Linked DNA regions of Homo sapiens: all the other regions are linked to region 4. Evidence: promoter capture Hi-C in 16 types of primary human blood cells and fetal thymus (Javierre and others, 2016). All regions are on one chromosome and are shown on one strand. Each heading gives the region's core, a stretch centred on a gene start or on the middle of the fragment in contact. The rest is flanking DNA. Distances are from core to core; before and after follow the strand shown. Region 1 has its middle 5.5 kb from the start of MORF4L1. Region 2 overlaps SH2D7 (SH2 domain containing 7). Region 3 overlaps TBC1D2B (TBC1 domain family member 2B). Region 4 holds the start of IREB2 (iron responsive element binding protein 2). Region 5 overlaps MORF4L1 (mortality factor 4 like 1). Region 6 has its middle 4.2 kb from the start of CIB2. Region 7 overlaps IDH3A (isocitrate dehydrogenase (NAD(+)) 3 catalytic subunit alpha).

Evidence for each region. The method cuts DNA at HindIII sites, captures the fragments that hold promoters and counts their contacts. A CHiCAGO score of 5 or more calls a contact.
Region 1: a contact is called between a fragment that was not itself captured here and the fragment with the promoter of IREB2 in region 4, in 1 of 17 cell types (neutrophils). The highest score is 6.0, in neutrophils.
Region 2: a fragment that was not itself captured here is called in contact with the fragment with the promoter of IREB2 in region 4 in 2 of 17 cell types (activated CD4 T cells and total CD4 T cells); the score reaches 5.5 in activated CD4 T cells.
Region 3: a fragment that was not itself captured here is called in contact with the fragment with the promoter of IREB2 in region 4 in 1 of 17 cell types (neutrophils); the score reaches 5.8 in neutrophils.
Region 5: a fragment that was not itself captured here is called in contact with the fragment with the promoter of IREB2 in region 4 in 4 of 17 cell types (naive CD8 T cells, erythroblasts, total CD8 T cells and 1 more); the score reaches 6.3 in naive CD8 T cells.
Region 6: a contact is called between a fragment that was not itself captured here and the fragment with the promoter of IREB2 in region 4, in 2 of 17 cell types (naive CD8 T cells and non-activated CD4 T cells). The highest score is 5.7, in naive CD8 T cells.
Region 7: a fragment that was not itself captured here is called in contact with the fragment with the promoter of IREB2 in region 4 in 2 of 17 cell types (total CD8 T cells and total CD4 T cells); the score reaches 6.9 in total CD8 T cells.

Annotation. Positions count from the first base shown.
Region 1 is chr15:78,866,038-78,868,737 of GRCh38, reverse strand. No RefSeq gene overlaps it. Among named protein-coding and RNA genes, the nearest start is that of MORF4L1, 5.5 kb to the left of the region's middle. The HindIII fragment of the contact is 7,287 bases long and covers 1-2,700 here.
Region 2 is chr15:78,095,405-78,098,104 of GRCh38, reverse strand. It overlaps SH2D7 (SH2 domain containing 7), which reads right to left. Exons shown (of 6, transcript NM_001101404.2): 3 at 11-176. Among named protein-coding and RNA genes, the nearest start is that of SH2D7, 4.2 kb to the right of the region's middle. The HindIII fragment of the contact is 4,220 bases long and covers 1-2,700 here.
Region 3 is chr15:78,007,617-78,010,316 of GRCh38, reverse strand. TBC1D2B (TBC1 domain family member 2B) reads left to right here. Exons shown (of 13, transcript NM_144572.2): 10 at 1,203-1,320. Among named protein-coding and RNA genes, the nearest start is that of TBC1D2B, 69 kb to the left of the region's middle. The HindIII fragment of the contact is 2,998 bases long and covers 1-2,700 here.
Region 4 is chr15:78,436,839-78,439,538 of GRCh38, reverse strand. It overlaps IREB2 (iron responsive element binding protein 2), which reads right to left and starts at 1,323. Exons shown (of 22, transcript NM_004136.4): 1 at 1,183-1,323. The coding sequence starts at 1,201. RefSeq lists a silencer at 869-1,108 and enhancers at 1,579-1,638, 1,709-1,788. The HindIII fragment of the contact is 13,990 bases long and covers 1-2,700 here.
Region 5 is chr15:78,890,195-78,892,894 of GRCh38, reverse strand. It overlaps MORF4L1 (mortality factor 4 like 1), which reads right to left. Exons shown (of 12, transcript NM_006791.4): 6 at 1,881-1,906; 7 at 1,323-1,411; 8 at 582-683. Among named protein-coding and RNA genes, the nearest start is that of MORF4L1, 19 kb to the right of the region's middle. The HindIII fragment of the contact is 687 bases long and covers 1,107-1,793 here.
Region 6 is chr15:78,134,317-78,137,016 of GRCh38, reverse strand. No RefSeq gene overlaps it. Among named protein-coding and RNA genes, the nearest start is that of CIB2, 4.2 kb to the right of the region's middle. The HindIII fragment of the contact is 4,331 bases long and covers 1-2,700 here.
Region 7 is chr15:78,154,879-78,157,578 of GRCh38, reverse strand. It overlaps IDH3A (isocitrate dehydrogenase (NAD(+)) 3 catalytic subunit alpha), which reads right to left. Exons shown (of 11, transcript NM_005530.3): 2 at 2,304-2,366; 3 at 1-31. Among named protein-coding and RNA genes, the nearest start is that of IDH3A, 6.9 kb to the right of the region's middle. The HindIII fragment of the contact is 1,295 bases long and covers 659-1,953 here.

The sequences.
Region 1 (2,700 bases), core at 72-2,571, 430 kb before region 4:
CTTTTCTTTTTTTTTTTTAAGAGACAGGGTCTCACTATGTTGTCCAGGGTAGCGTGTCAACACAGCCAGGCTATGTTGTCCTGGCTAGAGTGTCCAGCCTGGAATCCTAGGCTCAAGCAATCCTCACGCCTCAGCTTCCAGAGTAGCTGGGAATACAGATCACGCCACCATGCCTGCCTTCTGCACTTTGCTTTTATTTTTTCAGGACCCAAGAAGTAGAATTACTAGGTCAAAGAATGTGGGCATTTTAAATTGCCTTGTGAAAGGTTTCATCATTTTACATTTCAACTAGCAATTTAAGAAAAGGCTTGTTTTTCCACATTCTTGACAAACATGGCATCATGGAGTCTCTGAAAACTGGTGTTTGTTTTTTTTGAGATGGAGTCTCACCCTGTCGCCCAGGCTGGAGTGCAGTGGCACGATCTTGGCTCACCGCAACCTCCGCCACCCGGGTTCAAGCGATTCTCCTGCCTCAGCCTCCCAAGTAGCTGGGATTACAGGCACCTGCTACCATGCCCAGCTAATATTTGTAGTTTTAGTAGAGACAGGGTTTCACCATCTTGGCCAGGCTGGTCTTGAACTCATGACCTCATGATCCACCCGCCTCGGCCTCCCAAAGTGCTGGGATTACAGGCGTGAGCCACTGCGCCCAGCCTGTTTTTGTTTTGACGTGGAGCCTCGCTCTGTCACCCAGGCTGGAGTGTAATGGCATGATCTCGGCTCACTGCAAACTCCACCTCCCGGGTTCAAGCGATTCTGCTATCTCAGCCTCCCGAGTAGCTAGGATTACAAGTGCACGCTGCCATGCCCAGCTAACATTTTGTATTTTAGTAGAGACGGGGTTTCACCGTGTTGCCCAGGCTGGTCTTGAACTCCTGAGCTCAGGCCATCCACCTGCCTCAGCCTCCAAAAGTGCCAGGATTACAGGTGTGAGCCACTGTGCCCTGCATGAAAACTGGCTTTAATATAACAGGAACTCGTGTTGTACAAAAGAAACCAGACATGAAAGAGTATATACTTTATCAATAGTGTTAGAAATTATGGGCACTAGGAAACTACAGAACAGTGACAGAAATGTTCTGTATCTTAATCTGGTGTGGTTAGATGGTGTTACATGTTTTACACATGTAAAAATTCATCAAGCTGTACACTTACTAGTAATGCACCTTAACAAACCTACATTATACCTCAATAAAAATATTTTTAAAGTCGCTTTTTAAAGATTTTATTATGAAAAGTTCAAACATACAGAAAAGTAGAAAGAATAATACATTTTAGCCAGGTGCAGTGGCTCACGCCTGTAATCCCAACACTTTGGGAGGCCAAGGCAGGTGGGTCACAAGGTCAAGAGTTTGAGACCAGCCTGGCCAACATGGTGAAACCCCGTCTCTACTAAAAATATAAAAATTAGCCGGGCGCTGTGGCACATGCCTGTAGTCCCAGCTACTCAGGAGTCTGAGGCAGGAGAATCATTTGAACCCGGGAGGCAGAGGTTGCAGTGAGCCGAGATTGTGCCACTGCACTCCAGCCTGGGCGGCGGAGCAAGACTCCATCTCAGGAAAAAAAAAAAGAAGAAGAAGAAAAAGACATTTTTTATCACCTCCGTTAAACAACTGTGAACATTTCCCCGGATGTGCCTTATATTGACATATTTATGTGGGGTGTGTGTGTGTGTAAACACATAATAACCATTCACACCTGGTTTCTTTAGTATGTACTTCCAAAATAAGCATTCTCTACATGCCACAATACCATATCACATCCAGCACAATAACATGCAGTCTGCTTTCAAGTTGTTGCTATTAGAAACCTATGTCAATAGGGAATAACAATAGTTTCCTAAAATTATGCAGTACTCACTCCAGATTTCCTCGCTTGTTTGTGTCCTCCTTTTTTCAAAACAAGACCTATTAAATAACAATGTATTACATTTGATTGTTAAATTTTTTTTTTTTTTGAGACGGAGCTTCACTCTTGTTACCCAAGCTGGAGTGCAATGGCACAATCTCGGCTCACTGCAACCTTCGCCTCCCGGGTTCAAGCAATTCTCCTGCCTCAGCCTCCTGAGTAGCTGAGATTACAGGCATGCGCCACTATGCCTGGCTAATTTTTGTATTTTTAGTAGAGATGGGATTTCTCCATGTTGGTCAGGCTGGTCTCGAACTCCCGACCTCAGGTGATCTGCCCGCCTCAGCCTCCCAAAGTGCTGGGGTCACAGGTGTGAGTCACCACTCCTGGCTACAATCTCTTTTTTTTTTTTTAATTATGCCCCAGAACTGAGCAATCTCTTGTTTTTTTGTTTGTTTGTTCTGTTTTTTTTTTGAGACAGAGTCTCAAATCTCGGCTCACTGTAACCTCCGCCTCCTGGGTTCAAGCCATTCTGCCTCAGAGTAGCTGGGATTACAGACACACACCACCACGCCCAGCTAATTTTTGTATTTTTAGTAGAGGCGGGATTTCACCACGTTGGCCAGGCTGGTCTTAAACTCCTGACCTCAAGTGATCCACCTCCCCCAGCCTCCCAAAGTGCTGGAATTACAGGCACGAGCCACCGTGCCTGGCCAAATCTCTTGTCTTTTTAAACGTAGAGCAGAAGTTCTTAAGTTAGGAGTCTGTGGATACAATTCAAAGGGTCCATGAAGTTGGATGAGGCAAAAATTACATTTTTATTTTCACCAAATTCTAATTAAAATTTAGCAT
Region 2 (2,700 bases), core at 74-2,573, 340 kb after region 4:
GGGCGCCTACCCGGGGGCAGGCAGCAGTCAGCATCTCTTTGAAGGGCTCGAGCTGTGCCTCCTGGTAATGGTGCACAAGCTCAGCCAGGGTGCTGTGGCTCTGGGTGTCTCCTGAGATGATGTAACGCCGGTTTCGAAGCTGGTTGATGACAAAATGTCGGCAGCGATCACTGCCCCTGCAACACAAGTGCTTGTGGTCTGGGGCTGCTGGTCACAGGCAGCCCAGCCTTGGCCCAGGGTCTGAGCTCTGTGCCTGGGTGCAGGTGAGGGGTCCCAGCTCTTGATCCAGAACAGACCTGCCTGACCTGGGGCCACTGTACCCCACTTGGAGCCATGGTGTGTTCATCAGGAAGCTACGGAGAGGTTTTCAAACCGTGGAGCCCTGGGATCCTGGGAAGTACCTAAGCCTGCTCTGGTGGAGTCAGGGAGAGCACGGCTGTGACTGGAGTGAGGCAAGTGAGGCACTCATCTTAGGTGCGAAATTTAAAGGGGCACCAAAAAACTCAATAAAGAAAACTAATAACGCAGTATTTTAGAAAATCAAAATATATGAAAAAAATCCACAATGAACAAAACACCAAAGTTTTAAATAAAGACAGGATCCAACCCTGCACCTGTACAACTCAACCTCACCCTACTCCCCACCCTGCTGCAATGATGGAGTTCCAGCTCCCACCCCCTCTTCGGCCTGTAAAGTCCCACCCTAAAATCCTACCCTCTTCATCTCCCTTTTTCCTAGAAGAATAACCTCTACACAGTGATGTGTGTACATTATAAATGTGCAGCTTGATGAATTTCCATATAGGAACCCTCCCATGTAACTGCCACTCAGGTCAAGATACAAAACCCTTCCAGCCCCCAGAAGACCTACTTGCGCTCCCATCCAGTCAATGCCCCCTAAAGGTAGCCACCATTCCGACGCCTATCAGCATAGATTAGTCTTGCCCATTAGAGAACTTCTATAATACTTCTCTTTTGTGTCTAGCACATTTCACTCAACATTATATCTTGGAGATTGATTCATGTCCAAGTAGAATTAGTTTCTTTTTTTTCTCATTTATATGTAGTATTCTAGTTAATGAAAAATCCACCATGTACCTATTCTGATGATAGACATTTAGGTAGTTTCCGGATTTGGGCTGTTATAAATAAAGCTGCTGTGAGCATTCTTGTGCATATCTTTTGGTGAATATGTACTCATTTCTGATGTGAATATACCAAGGAGTAGAGTTGATGGGTCAAGGGTACACCCGTGTTTGGCTTTAGTAAATCATGCCAAATTGCTTTCTAAAATTATTGCAATGCGCCAGGTGCAGTGGCTCATGCCTGTAATCCCAGCACTTTGAGGGGCCGAGGCAGGCAAATCACTTGAGGTCAGGAGTTCAAGACCAGCTTGATCAATATAGTGAAACCCCATCTCTACTAAAAATTAAAAAAAAAAAAATAGCCGGTGTCGTGGTGGTTGCCTGTAATCCCAGCTACTCTGGAGGCTGAGGTAGGAAAATTGCTTGAACCCTGGAGGCGGAGGTTGCAGTGGGCTGAGATTGTGCCATTGCACTCCAGCTAGGTGACAAGAGTGAAACTCCATCTCAAAAATAAAATAAAATTATTGCAATGTATGAGAGCTCCAGTTGTTCCACATATTCTGTCTTTCCATTATAGCCATCCATTGTGGCTTTAATTTGTGTTTCCCTGATAGCTAATGATGCTGAACATGTTTTCATATGCTTATGGGCCTTCTGGGTTTTTCTTTTTGGTAAAGTGCCTGCTCAGTTCTTTTGCTTTTACTTATTGAATTATCTATTTTTGCTTATTTATTTGTAGGAGTTCTTTATATATTCTGGATTTGAGTCCTTTGTTAGATATTTGTATTCTAATAGATAACTTCTTCAAGACTGCACCCTGACCTTTTTCTTCTCTTAATAATATCTCTTTATAAGAATTATAAAAATTCTTAATTTTGGCTAGGTGCAGTGGCTCACGCCTGTAATCCCAGCACTTTGGGAGGCTGAGGCAGGTGGATCACCCAAGGTCAGGAGATTGAGACCAGCCTGACCAATATGGTGAAACCCCATCTCTACTAAAAATACAAAAATTAGCTGGGTGTGGTGGCGTGTGCCTGTAGTCCCAGCTAGTTGGGAGGCTGAGACAGGAGAATTGCTTGAACCCGGGAGGCAAAGGTGGCAGTGAGCAGAGATCGCGCCACTGCACTCCAGCCAGAGCGAGAGAGCGAGACTCTGTCTCCAAAAAATAAATAAATAAATAAATAAATTTTAAAAAATTCTTAATTTTAAGGAAATCAAGTTAATCACTCTTTTAAGATTAGCGCTTTTTGTGTCCTGTTTAAAAAAACTTGGCCTCTCATTTTCAAAGGCATTTTCATTTACCTATGACAATGTTTTCCTGTTTTCTTCTAGAAATGGTATTGTTTTGCTTTTCTTTCTTGGATCTACGATCCATCTAGAATTAATTAATTTTCATGTATGGTATGAGGTAGCAGTAATTGTTTTCCATTTAGATATCCAATTGCTCCTGCACCAATTATTGAAAAAACAAGCCTTTCCCCCACGGAATTGCAGTGATGCCTCTGTTGTAAATCTGGTAACCAAACATTTGGGACTATTTTGGGACTCTATTCTGTTAATTTTTCTATTTGTATACCTTTGGGCGGTCCCACTTTGGTCTCTTTTATAAGTTAGT
Region 3 (2,700 bases), core at 155-2,654, 430 kb after region 4:
GGAGCCATACCAGGGCTATTGATTAGTGACAGCATGTAAATAGCTGACCCCAGTTTCCGTTATGAACAACAAAGCAAGTGAGACACATGGTCCTCTTCCCCTGCTGTGCATGCAGTGGGCACAGCGCTGTTAGCTCCTTTGGGGTGCCCTCATCTGCAGCCCATTTTATTCCTTCAGCCTGGAAGCAGGATGGTGTTGGGAAAGCTGTTTTAAACCATTCTGTATTCTTTGTTACTTACATTCACATCTGGAATTTTTGTGCATAAAAGGGTTATTTGGAACTTCTTGATGAACTCAAAGAATCAGCTGCATTTGCAAAAATCTTTTTTTTTTTTTTTTTTTGAGACGGAGTCTGGCTCTCTCGCCCAGGCCGGAGTGCAGTGGAGCTATCTCGGCTCACTGCAAGCTCTGCCTCCCGGGTTCACGCCATTCTCCTGCCTCAGCCTCCCAGGTAGCTTGGACTACAGGCGCCCGCCACCGCGCCTGGCTAATTTTTTTGTATCTTTAGTAGAGACAGGGTTTCACCGTGTCAGCCAGGATGGTCTCAATCTCCTGACCTCGTGATCTGCCCGCCTCGGCCTCCCAAAGTGCTGGGATTACAGGCGTGAGCCATTGCGCCCAGCCGCAAAAATCTTATAATGAAAACTTTTTTTTAATGAGGCTGGCTGATCATTGGGAAACAATTTCATCTTTGAACAAAAACCAAATGAAAGTGGGGAAAAGTAGCTTTGCTTCTCAAATTTTAGGAAATGCACCCCCTCCTTTTTTTTTTTTAATGAGACAAGGTCTTGTTCTGTTGCACAGGCTGGAGTGCAGTAGTGCGATTATCATTCACTGTAGCCTCCACCTCCTGGGCTCAAGTGATCCTCCTGCCTCAGCCTACTGGGTAGCTAGGACTACAGGTGTGCGTCGCTACTCCTGGCTGATTTTTGGTTTTTTGTTTTTTTAGAGATGGAGTCTTGCTATGTTGCCCAGGCTGGTCTTAAACTCCTAGCCTCAAGTGATCTTCCTGTCTTGGCCTCCCAGAGTGCTAGTATAATAGGCGTGAGCCATTAAGCCAGGTCCTTATTATTCTTTATTGGAGAACTAGAAATAATTTTGGCCATGAGAGAAAAAGTGGCTTAAAGCAGATGGTCTCTGTGGAGACTGTAGTAGCAGCTGTCTGTGCCTGGGCTCTCATCTTGTCCTCCCTTTGCTTGTAGGTTGGTGGCAGTGGCCCTCCTGTACCTGGAACAAGAAGATGCTTTCTGGTGTCTCGTTACCATAGTGGAAGTTTTCATGCCTCGAGACTATTATACAAAGACTCTTTTAGGATCCCAGGTAGTTCTGAAAATTCTGTGTTTTAGTCACCACTTTTAGAATTGCAGCTGAAATGTGACCTGAATTAAACCTGCGGTCAGGGTGAGGGGTTGCTTTGTGTATGTGACTTCAGAGACTGATTCCTGAAGACAGCAGGCCACATCTCAGAGGCTGTCCCCAGTCATGGCCTGCTGTTTGTGACTGAGGCCGAGTTGGGCTCATTCAGCCCCCTGCGAACCAGCAGAGACAGACCCGTCCTGCAGGCCTAACATTGTGTTCACTGCTCTGCACTGTCTTCCCCGGACACAGGCCTACCAGTGGGCTGAGTCATAATCCAGGTGTGCTTGGGTGACTGGTGTGTTAGCTCAGGCTCTCAAGAAGCAATGTCAGGCTGGAATGAGACAAACCAGAGACTTCGGCGGGGGGAAGCCCCTGTGGAGGACAAGGGACAGAGAAGTTCCAGCCCCAGGAAGGGAGGAGGATGGGGAGGAGAGTCCCAGACCCTGTGCAGTGACCACCATGCAGTCCTGAGGAAGTCTGGGCAGGGCCAGTGGGGAGCCCTCAAGCCAAGGGCAGTGACCAAGGCACCTGCCTCCACAGATGGGCTGCATTCCTGCCGCTGCCGCACCCATGCCCTGCTGCTGGGAATGAACGTGGTGATGCACCAGAGGGGCAGCAGTGGGGCCTGCAGTCACCTCCTGCAGTGGGAGTCTGAGTGGCGCATTTCATGCCATCCACACCTGGAGTCTGACGCCAGGGGCCAGGGCAGAGTGATAAGGGCTGGGAGAGCCCAGTGTTTCTGCCTTTGCTTGGGACAGTCCTGGCCCTGGACCAGATCCTTGGCCCTTGAATCATCCCTAGGCTGGGCTGGGGCTGCTGCCAGCACTGGCTTCCCCGTAAGCCGGCCCTTCGCATGTGGCCCAGACTCAGGCAGCTTCTCTCTTAGCCACAGCTGTCCCCGTGTGTGCCTGCCCTGTCTCGTGTCTCTTCTCCAGGTCTGTGCCCCCGCCTGGCCTGCCTGCTCACAGCCTCTCCTTGCCCTTCTCCTGCACCACTTGGTGTTGCAAGGCCTGGCCCTGCAGGCCAGCGGGAGGTGCTGGCAGGAGACTGAAGGGTGACAGGAGGGACTGAAGGGGTTTTCCCTCTCCCCATCTCGGGCACTGCCTCTGAAGGTGGCTTTGTCTCCTCTGTGCCCAGCTCCTGTCCGGTGGGTCCTCTGTGCCAACAGCTGACCCCACCGGCTCCCTTCATTGCTCCCCTGCAGGGTGGCTTTCTGCCCTTGCTATAACTCTGGGCTGCCTCACTGTCAGCTGTTTGGCTTCTCAGCTTTTCTCTCACCAGTGTGGCCAGCCCCTGGATGACATTCACTCTGTGACACATATTTAGAGGGATTTCTGTTTT
Region 4 (2,700 bases), core at 74-2,573:
CACTGGAAAGCATAGTTCTAAACCATAATTTGTCAAGTAAAAACTAGTAAGATAATTCACTCCTGAAATGTGATAAGAATACCTGGAAAGGGACAATAAGAATGATTTAAATAATCCACGGGGACGTTTTGGAAAGACATGTCTTGAAAACTGCAGAGACAGGAATTTGTGAATTCCACAATTAACATTAGAGGGACTGATTAAAAAAAAAAACTAAAAGACGGATTTTTACAGAGCATTCAATAAACCAAAACAAAAAAACTTCTCAGTTAAGTCCTTACCAGGGCTTAGTACTGAAAATAAAAGTAACAGAATCTCTAGGAAATTAGCATATTCTACCCGAAAGAGACAAGTCTTCTGGTTTTGCACGAACTGAAGCTGAACTACTAAGTCAAAGATCCAGAGGTCTCATTTAAACGTGCCTCAGCTCCCAACATTCTAGGGGGCAGTGGCGGGGAGGCAGCCCTGAGGTTGAAAAGAACCTTCAGATCTTTTGTGCAGACTCATAGCGGTGGGTGGCCAGGACCCTCAACATTGTTAAGGCTTTCATCCAAAAGGAGAAAACATAAGCACAGCCCATTTTCAGAATGAATAGTATTTTTTTCTCTTTTTTTTTTTTTGTAGAGGGAGGTGGACGGGGGAGGAGACAGCGGTGCAATAAATGGTCGGAGAACTGACTGACCAATGTTCAACCTTGACTGCCCCTCATTCGGCTTCCAGAGGCACAGAGAGACTGAGGGGCCTTAGGCTGGACCGTGGAATCAACATCTAGCTGCGTGAGACCCGAACACGGAGACGCAGGCCCCCGCCTTCATCGCTCGCCAATGGGGGGCGGGCAGGAGAAGACGGTGGGCCTCTCCCTGCCCCTGGTGTTGCTGACGGGGGCCAGGAAGCCGCTGGCAGCAGGCAGCGGCCACCGGAGAGAGAGGGGTGCGGGTCAAGGCCAGCGGTGGGGTGGCCCGCCCTGCGGGTGTCGCGCAGGAGGGTGGGGATCGGGAGCCCCAGCTTCCGCGGCCTAGGCTCAAAGGGCGGCCCAGCAGGCAGGCCCCGAGGGGAGCACAACCCGAGCCCCGAGGGCCTGGGCGCCTGCCGAGCGACTCCAGGCGAGAAAAGCAAGGAATTCGGCGCCTAGGCAGCGCGCGTTTCCAACTGCCAGACCCAGCTCGGAGGCCCGAAACTGACCTGCTTTTGGGGCGTCCATCGCCGGAGACCATATTATCCCTCCGGGGAGGGGGCCAGCGGGGGAAGAAGGGGGAGGCCGGGCAGGGAAGACGGGGAGGAAGACAGGCGGACTGGCAAGGGAGGAAAGAAGGAAGCAGGCTCGCGCAAATATCGCGAGAGCAGCAGAGCCAGCCCCGGGTCTGCGCTCGCGGGATTTGTCGCCTAACTCCCGCGAGATCGTCGGACAGGAAAACAAAGAAAGGGAAGGGGCGGAGCTAACCAGAAAGCGATTTCTCGCGCCGTCGCCGCTGTTCTCGCGAGCGGGGGCGGAGCGCTGGGGAGGCTCCAGTGGGGGCGTTGGCGTGGCTAGTTTGGCCTTCGCAGCGATCCGTTACTTAGTTGCGGCCTTAAGTTTTCTATTGGGGTCATGAATTCGAGCGGTGTTTGCGTTCCCGCAAGGTGTCTGTTGGAGTCAGGGTCGGAATCGGAACTGCTAGGAGAAAGAGCTCAAGGAGAACCGCTTTCCCCTAACTATAAAGCCTTGCATTAACTTGTCAGACGTGGGCGGCCCACACGCGTGTTTTCAAGTGGGGGCGGCCATACTGATCGGGCGCGTGGGAGGCGCTCAACTGTTGAATGAATGAATTTTTTCTTACCCTCCGGTAGCTTCCGTGATTGCCGACTTCTTCCCAGTGGCAGTTAACACATGCTTAAGCCTCTCCATCCTTCCGCCTCAGCTCCTCCGGTCCCTGTGTTCTCCACCTACCCAGCATTATCTCCTGTCGCAGCAACTTACCAGAAAGAGTCGCTCATACTCGGCTCTCCCCCACCCACTTCTTATCCTCTTCCAGTCTGGCTTCCACTCCCAGAAATGCCTTTAGCCAAGGCCAGCTATAACTCCACTTTCTAATCTCACATATCTCAATCTTGACTGGTTCTCTCCCATTGTTGAAAAATACTCTTCCATCAGCTTCTGTGACTTCAGACTCTACTTTTGTTTCTTCTCCTAAGGGTGCTTGATCTCAGGCTCCTCTGCAGACCTCTTCCTCCGCCCAGCTTTTAAATGTACTGGGCACTTGATGGGCACAGTAGCTCATGCCTGTAATTCCAGCACTTTAGGAGGCCAAAGTGGGAGGATGGCTTGAGCTGAAAAGTTCAAGACCAAACACAGCAACGTAGTGAGACCCTATCTCTACAAAAAAAATTTAAAAATTAGCTGAGTGTGGTGGCATGCACCTGTAGTCTCAGCTACTCAGGAGGCTGAGGTGGGAGGATCACTTGGGCCCAGGAGATTGAGGCTGTGGTGAGCCATGATTGCACCACTGCACTCCAGCCTGAGCAACACAGCAAGACCCTGTCTCAAAAAAAAATATATTGGACATTAAATGTGTCCCAGGGCTCTGGCCTTGTACCTCCTCCCTCTGTCCATTTTCCCTGGCCCATCTCACACTTCCTTTGACTTCAGTTATTAGTTAATATGTTGATGCTTCCCAGTCTGCCTGTGACCTGAGCCTATCTCCTAAACCCGGAGGTGTATAT
Region 5 (2,700 bases), core at 201-2,700, 450 kb before region 4:
AGGTCTCTTAAGTCTCATAATCCTCAAGCAGTCCCTAATCATCTCCCCCAACTATCCCTAACCCTACCTATGCCATTTGTTCAAATAGCTTCATTTGTCCTATAAAATTCTCAATTATAGAGTTCAACGATTGACAAACATGTCACTCCATTAAACATCCTATTTCCTGCAAACTAACAATAGATCCAGGCGCTTAGTAAGATTCAGGTTCTTTTCAGGGTCATGAATACCTTGCAGGTGGTGGTGTGTGCTTTCTATGGCCTACCATTAGCAATGACAGTAAGACATATGCTTCTTCACCTTTATGAATTTTCAGAACGAGTTCCTGCCCTAGCAATCTCCAAAAATGAGTTATTTCCACCTTTATCATTATAACCTCATAAAATTTATATGTGAACTTTTATTCTTCTAACTTACTCTTTCTGGTAGTAGTTCTAAAGTGTTCAGCCTCTAAATTAAAATATTATTTTATCAGTCATACCTTAATAATTCAAGTCAATATAACATTTTCCTTTAAAAACTTTTTTTGCTAGCAAGAATGTATCATATAGCTTAACAATCTGGGTAGCTTTTCAAGTTACCTGTTTTTGCCTGGTAATTAAGTCCCAGTCATCAACAAGCCACGGTTTTAGCTCTTCAGGAATCTTTACTTTAACTTCAACTCTGTTCATGAATGTTTCCTCCTAAACAGAAACAGGAGGAGTATTAAAAACCTAACCTTTCTTGCTAAATACCAAACATGGAGGGGAGCTGACTTTTAGAGGCACTAGGGATAAATCTTAAAGTAGCCAAGCATACAGCTGTACTGTCATTTTTTAAAATCATTAATAAAAACGACCATACGCGGTTCGCTGTTGGGAGAAAAGAATCTGACCTGAACTATAGTCTATTTAGTGCATTTTCTTGTAAAGGTAAAAATTCTTCAGTAAGGTTCCTCTTGTTCAGGAAATGAAACACCCTGACTTGATACATTTTAACTTAGTATTTTCTTATTTACCATGGATATCAAAACTATTCCAAACACAACCATCTTAAAGGTACATCTTTAACTCCTAAAAATAAATACGTAACACCAAAGAAATAGTCTTGTAGGTGAACATGAAGCTTACACAACAAATGATCAATTGGGTAGGTAAATCTGGAGCTACAGGTGAAATAAAGATATACAGAAATTTATCCTTTACCCCCAAAAGAGAAAATTTTTAATTTCAGGTATTAACCATGTAAGCAAATCTTGTAGATAATCAAAGCTCCCATGGTTATGTCATGTAACTGAGACTAAAAATCCTAACATGCTATTCATAAACACAAGAAAAACTCACATTTTCAACAGTAGGATCTACCCGGGCCCTTTTCTTCCGAGGAGGCTGAGGGGTCTCACTGGTACTGCCACCATCTCCATTTCCAGGTGCTGTAAATGTTGGCGGGGAGGGGTCTCATTTAGCTAATTTAACAAACTCTATAAGGAAAATAGTCTCTTGACACATTAACCCTTTTCATTATTTCTCCATTACACAGCTGTTACCTCAATCTAAGTTAAAGAATCATATTCCTACCAAAAATACAACTTTCATGAAGAGCTCTACCGAACATTTAGTATAGACAACATTTAGTATCACCATCTTCCATTTATTTATAAATGTTATCTTCTCAGTGGGAGACATTAAGACTAAAGCAGATGAAAATAAATGCTCACAAGTTTCTCCTTGGCAAAAAGAGGTCTCTACCACCATGTACCTATTTTATAACACTGCTGTGAGACTCCTATTTGAGATAATCAATAAACATAAGCTTACTCCAAAATTTCATAGCTTTCAAAATAAAAACGTCAATGTCATAGAGGTAACATAAATTAACGTTAAGAAAGTTAATATTCTTACTTTTCTGTTTGTTCTTTTTCGTTTTCCTAAAAGGAGAGAAAAAAAAGAAAAATAATTATTTCCAGTAAAACTGCCTCTGTTTCAACTCCCTTTATCAGGGTTAAGTTCACAGAGAAATACTAACTTGGATAAAGGATCAGGTGGTAAATATGTGTCCTACTCAGACACAAGGATTTTTATTGATAGTTGGTTAAATTCCCATCTCTCTCCACATAATAGAAAAAAATAAACCAAGCCAGGCGCAGTGGCACATGCCTGTAATCCCAGCATTTTGGGAGGTGAAGAGGGGGTGGATCTCTAGAGCTCAAAATTCCAGACCAGCCTGGGCAACATGGCAAATCCTGTTCTCTATAAAAAATACAAAAATTAACTGGGCATACTGGCAAACGCCTATAGTCCCAGCTACTTGGGAAGCTGAGGTGAGAGGATTGCTTGAGCCCAGGAGGCCAAGGCTGCAGTGAGCCTTGATTGCACCACTGCACTCCAGTCTTGGTGACAGAGACCCTGTCTCAAAGACAAAAAAAAAAGAAAAGCAAACCAAGAACACTTTAGTAAACAACTTCGTTCTTCCAGGGTTATATTAATATATGTTATAGTATATACTACATTATTAGGCCCACCAAAAAAAAAAGGTGTCAAAGGTTAAAATTTTTTTCCAATTATTTTTGTTCCCCAAAATATTTTTAGATTTGTGTAATTTTTTTGTTTTAAGTCTCCTCATCTTGATTATCATCTCTAACAGCAACTTACCTCACGTCACTTATATACTGTCAAATGGTAAATTGCTAATTTTGCTTTATTTATTTATTTTGAGATGGAG
Region 6 (2,700 bases), core at 132-2,631, 300 kb after region 4:
GGACTGAGGGGTCTGAGGGAAGGAGAGAAATCAAGGGTGCCTCCAAAGATGTCAAAGGCATCCAAGAGGTGGGTGGGACACGATCCAGAAGAAGCAGATTTGTGGAGGAAATTGACCCCCTCCTCCCTCAACAACAGGACAGTCGCCATCCAGCTGGGGTCCCATTTGAGCCATCCAGTAACTTCTCACATCCAGAGTAGCTTCTGGGGAAGGCTCTAGGGCAGGTCAGTCTCCCGGAAGAGAGAAAGGGGTTTCATTCTGTTGGCTCTGCGCTAAACGACTGGTCACTAAATCCTCCAGTAAGAAAATCTTTTTCAAGTCAGAATATTTGGGGATCTAGTTGATTAAATGTATGAACAGGTCCAGGAAAATGTACTCTTTTAAAGGGTGTTGATTTTACATTTGCTAAGACCATGTGCTAGACCCTGGGAGATTCCTCTGTGTCTGGGGATACAGACGAACATGTGGTCCCAGCCCTGGTCCCAGCCCTCCTGTTTCTTAGTGTTTGAGAGGGAAAAATAACCCTCCTCAGGACAAAAAAAAAAACAGTCCCAGGGTGTGTATTTATTTATCCACCAAATACTCATTAAGAACCTACTATGTGCAAAATGCTAGAGAAACAGAGACAAGCTGTTCAGTGCTAGGATATAGGCCAGGTTAAACAAGGGGTTGCAGGGTATGTGTGTGTGAGAGAGAGAGGGAGAGAGAGAGAAAGAGAGAGAGACTGAGGCAGACCTAGTAACTGCTCACACACTATAAATCACAGCCATGTCAGGGAAGACGCCAAGATGACAATGCTTTATAGGTAAAGATAAGAGTAAGATTTGAATTGCCCCTAAGATAGAGAAGATTCCCATGAGCCAAGATAGCAGGTGGGGTCCTGAGCTGATAAAAAGTAGAGGTGGGATAGTAAAGGATTTGAGTGGAGGACTGGGGAATGACTCACAGGGCCCACAGAGCTGCTAGAAGACAGGCTGCAGGCTTCGTTTACTTTAAGAGATGGTCCCACCCAGACCTTGGGCCCAGGGATCTTCCATCTCTGTCATTAAGATCTACCTAGATTCAGGCTGAGACGGGCGGATCACAGGGTCAGGAGATCAAGACCATCCTGGCTAACACAGTGAAACCCCGTCTCTACTAAAAATACAAAAAAATAGCTGGGCATGGTGGCAGGCGCCTGCAGTCCCAGCTACTTAAGAGGCTGAGGCAGGAGAATGGCAGGAACCCAGGAGGCGGAGCTTGCAGTGAGCCAAGATCGCGCCACTGCACTCCAGCCTGGGCGACAGAGCGAGACTCCGTCTCAAAAAAACAAAACAAAACAAAAACAAACAAACAAAAAGATCTATCTAGATTCTAAGTCTTAGAAGAACAACTTGCAGATTGAGTTGTTCTGCAGTAAATGCTACAAGGCTTCTCTGGGATGAGAGGTCATCTTGATCACAAAGTGCATCATCATCACAAACGAGCACTTGGGCAGCAGGTCAAGATGACCTCTCATCCCAAAGAAGCACTTGGTAGCATTTATTCCTGTTTTCCTTCCAAATTTTAAAATAAACTTCATTGTGTGAATCAGAAATGAAAAAAAATAAGCTAACATTTAATGAGTATCTGGCACCCCTGCTGCCTTTTCCTTTTACATTATTTACAAGACTGCAATTGACAAGGAGTCAGCCCCCTTTAAACACTGGTAACCACGTTTCCCTGTCCTAGACTGTGTGATCAAGAGAAGAGTCCGGCAGGGCACGGTGGCTCATGCCTGTAATCCCAACTTTGGGAGGCTGAGGAGGTCAGGAGTTCGAGACCAGCCTGGCCAACATGGTGAAACACCGTCTCTATTAAAAATACAAAAATTAGCTGGGTGTGGTGGCTCCCACCTGTAGTCCCAGCTACTCAGGAGGCTGAGGCAGAAGAATCACTTAAACCCGGGAGGCAGAGGTTGCAGTGAGCTGAGATCATGCCCCTGGGCGACAGAGTAAGACTGTCTCAAAAAAAAAAAAAAAAAAAAAGAAAAAAGAAAAGAAAAGAGTCAGGGCCCAGATTTAAATCTACCTGTTACCAGCTATGTGACCTTGGGCAAGTCACCTTCTCTGAAACTATTTCTTCACCTGTGAAATGGGATAATAATATGAAACTCCACAGACTGAGGAGGCTATTGTGGAATAATCAAATTCAGTAAATATAGCACATCCAGTACAATTCTGGGCACTAGATAAGTAATCAGTAATGTTTTATTCTTCTCCCTCGGCCCATCCTCCCTCCCAGCAAACACACACACTCTGCTCCTCAGGGACCACACTCAACATCAGGGAGCAGCTAAAGCACAGGATTTGGAATCAGAGAACGACGTTAGAGCTTTGCTTTGCCACTTCCCAGCTGGGGGGCATCAGGCAAGTCATTTGGCCTCTCTGAGCCCCAGGTTTCTTATCTGTAACATGGGAATTGTGTTCCTTGCCCCTCCTCACAGCATTGCTCAAGAGAGAGAGCTTCAGATAGGCCATGGTAATAATGATCCAAAAAGATTTTTTTTTTTTTTTGAGATGGAGTTTCGCTCTTGTCGCCCCGGCTGGAGTGCAATGGCACGATCTTGGCTCACAGCAACCTCTGCCTCTCGGGTTCAAGTGATCCTCCTGCCTCAGCCTCCTGAGTAGCTGGGACTACAGGCACGCCACCACGCCAGGCCAATTTTTTGTATTTTTAGCA
Region 7 (2,700 bases), core at 57-2,556, 280 kb after region 4:
CATCTCCTGGAATTAAAGTTACTGTCTGAACCTGAACATAAGAAATCATCAAAGAAGACAGTAAGAATTTTTGTTTTTGAAGGCTTAAAAAAGAATATTTTGACAGAGAAATCCACTTTATGAGATGTCTCAGGAAGATTCAAATGCTGTTAAGAAAACAAACATACCTCCCCGGGGGTCATCAAAGGGGAGGCAGGAATCAACAGAGGAGAGACTCTGCAATCCTACTCTTTACCTGAGTTCAGAGGTTTTAAAAAGAACCAAATGATACTCTTTACATAAAACGAAAATAAATTAAACTACCAAGTAGATTTCCTAATTGATATTTCTTTTCAGACAAGCTGCAAAGAGACCAATTAATTCAAATCTTTTAAACCAAAGACAACAACAACAAAAAATTAACAATGTTCTCTCACTAAAATTTAGACGGTTTCTCATGAAGGCAAGTGTTTTCCTTTCCTTTCCATTGTGATCCTGGAAAGCTTCTCATGCAACTTCTTCAGTCTTGCAAAACATTTTCAGACACATTTCCAAAATATTACTGAGGTCTGTTTTGGTACTCAGGGAAAATCAGACTTTTTATCAAGAGAGCTTCCATTTTTTTCTTAGTTCCTCTATAAAACTGTCTGCTTAAATCTAAGAGTAATCTACATAAGCTTGGCAAAGTTGATCTGCAACCAAAAAGAATAGTATATGTCATCATACCTGCAAAGCCTGAGTCACACTTAGAATGACAATTATTGTTTTTATAATGTAACAGCAATGATTTATTCTAAGGCTTCAGGCAAAACGAAGCCAGCATTTCAAATGCAGAAATAAAAATATGTAAGGGAGAAGATCAGCACCTCTTTTTCCATTTGGGAACCACATATTTTATTATCTTGGGACTTTACCCCACCTAGGGGCTTGGCTTTTTTTCAGTTCTAGTTGCTTGAACTGCATTTTTAAAAAGTCACTAATTCAAGTTTCCTTGGTCCTTTGCCTTCCAATGATGTCTGCCCAGATACGTGGACTAATTATTTCTGATTAGTTTCTGTACAACTGAAGAAACATTTTTATTTTTTTCATTTTTCTAATTTTCAATTTTTATTTTTTAGAGATGAGGACTCACTACATTGCCAGGCAGGAGCACAGTGGCTACTCACAGGTGTGATCACAGCTCACTGCAGCCTCGAACTCCTGGCCTTAAGCAAATCTCCCACCTCAGTCTTAGCCAGGGCTAAGGCTCATACCAGTTTTCTCGGGTTGAAGAAGTCTTTAAAAAAATTAATACATCCTCTTATTTCTTCAAAAATAACCTCCTCCATCAAGCTAATTTTTTTTTCAAATAAATAGCCTGAAAATTAAATAATAGCAGAGAGCAATGATCATCTTATTAGCTTTCAGAATGCGTTTGAAATGCTAGCATGGCTATCCTTGAGCTTGAAGTGCAAGCCCCATCCTGCATTTTTGGCATAAGCAGAGCCAAAAGAACGCTTTGGCTACTTCTTCCTGTTCTCCCAACATGTAATAATAAATGTCATCCAGTCACCAGAAAATCTGCTTTTCTTCCACAATACAGAAAGTAAATGGAGGAAAAAATGTACTATGGTCTTATAAATCTTTCACGGCATAGATGTTATATGGGAGTATAGGAATTATGAAATCCAAATCAGATTCCATAAAAGGCGGGGCGGGGATCAAAACAAATAGGAAGTCACTGACCCACAGTCTTAGAATGTTCCAAAAATGTGGTATCAGCTTTTAAAGCACAGAATTCTGATGCTGGGAATTCTAAAAGCAGCAGATTTAATGAACAATAGATGATCTACTACTGTGATAGTCTACAAAGCCTATATAAGGCAAGTATAAGCCTACAAGGCTTATAGATGTTCGAGGCATTCCTAATTGGCACTCAATCTACTGGGTTTAGGGAAGCCCATAAAATAAAAATGCAAAGCAGGTTTTGAAGCTTCTCAACAATTTTCTCTCAACTTGTACTAGTTTTGAAAAAAGCTGTCTCACCAAAATGAGATTGTGAAATAAAATAACAGGCTCAAGGGTACTTTCTATTTTTAACAAGGCTCCCTCAAGATATTAATGTGACAAACTTACATAGCCAGCTGTAAGATAATTCTTTCAAATGCGCAAGTAACCTAACAGATTTGTGCATGTCAGCCAGTAATTTCAACATACATTATAAATATGGCCAATTTTCCCAAATTCTAAATGAATGGAGATAAAATGCTATATAATAAATATGTTAGAGCATCTTTCTTGAGAAACTTCTAAAAGGAAAAAATAAAAGACATAATTATACTCACACCACCAGTAAAACCTCTGGTCACCTGTTTTGGGTTGTGGAATGCCCCCAGCAGCCGAGAGACCTATATTAATATCAACAGAGAAATATCACACACAGAATTAAACCACATACAGTAAACAAGAGCGAGGAAGTCCTGATGGATGGTAATGCTGCAACTTGGCACAGATATATTCAGTAGCTTCCCAGGAATACAAATCTCATGTATTAGCTCAATGTGGCAAGCTATCTCAGATTTGAAAGCCTAAATACTCAGATTTTTACTTTAGATTGAGTACTGTATATTTTCAAAGTCAATTTAACGAATATAAGTTGTCAAATAAAAGATGTTGAAGGTAGAATAAAACTACTTTTTCAGCTCAACATACAGATTCTTCTCAGATGAGTGGATCATTTTG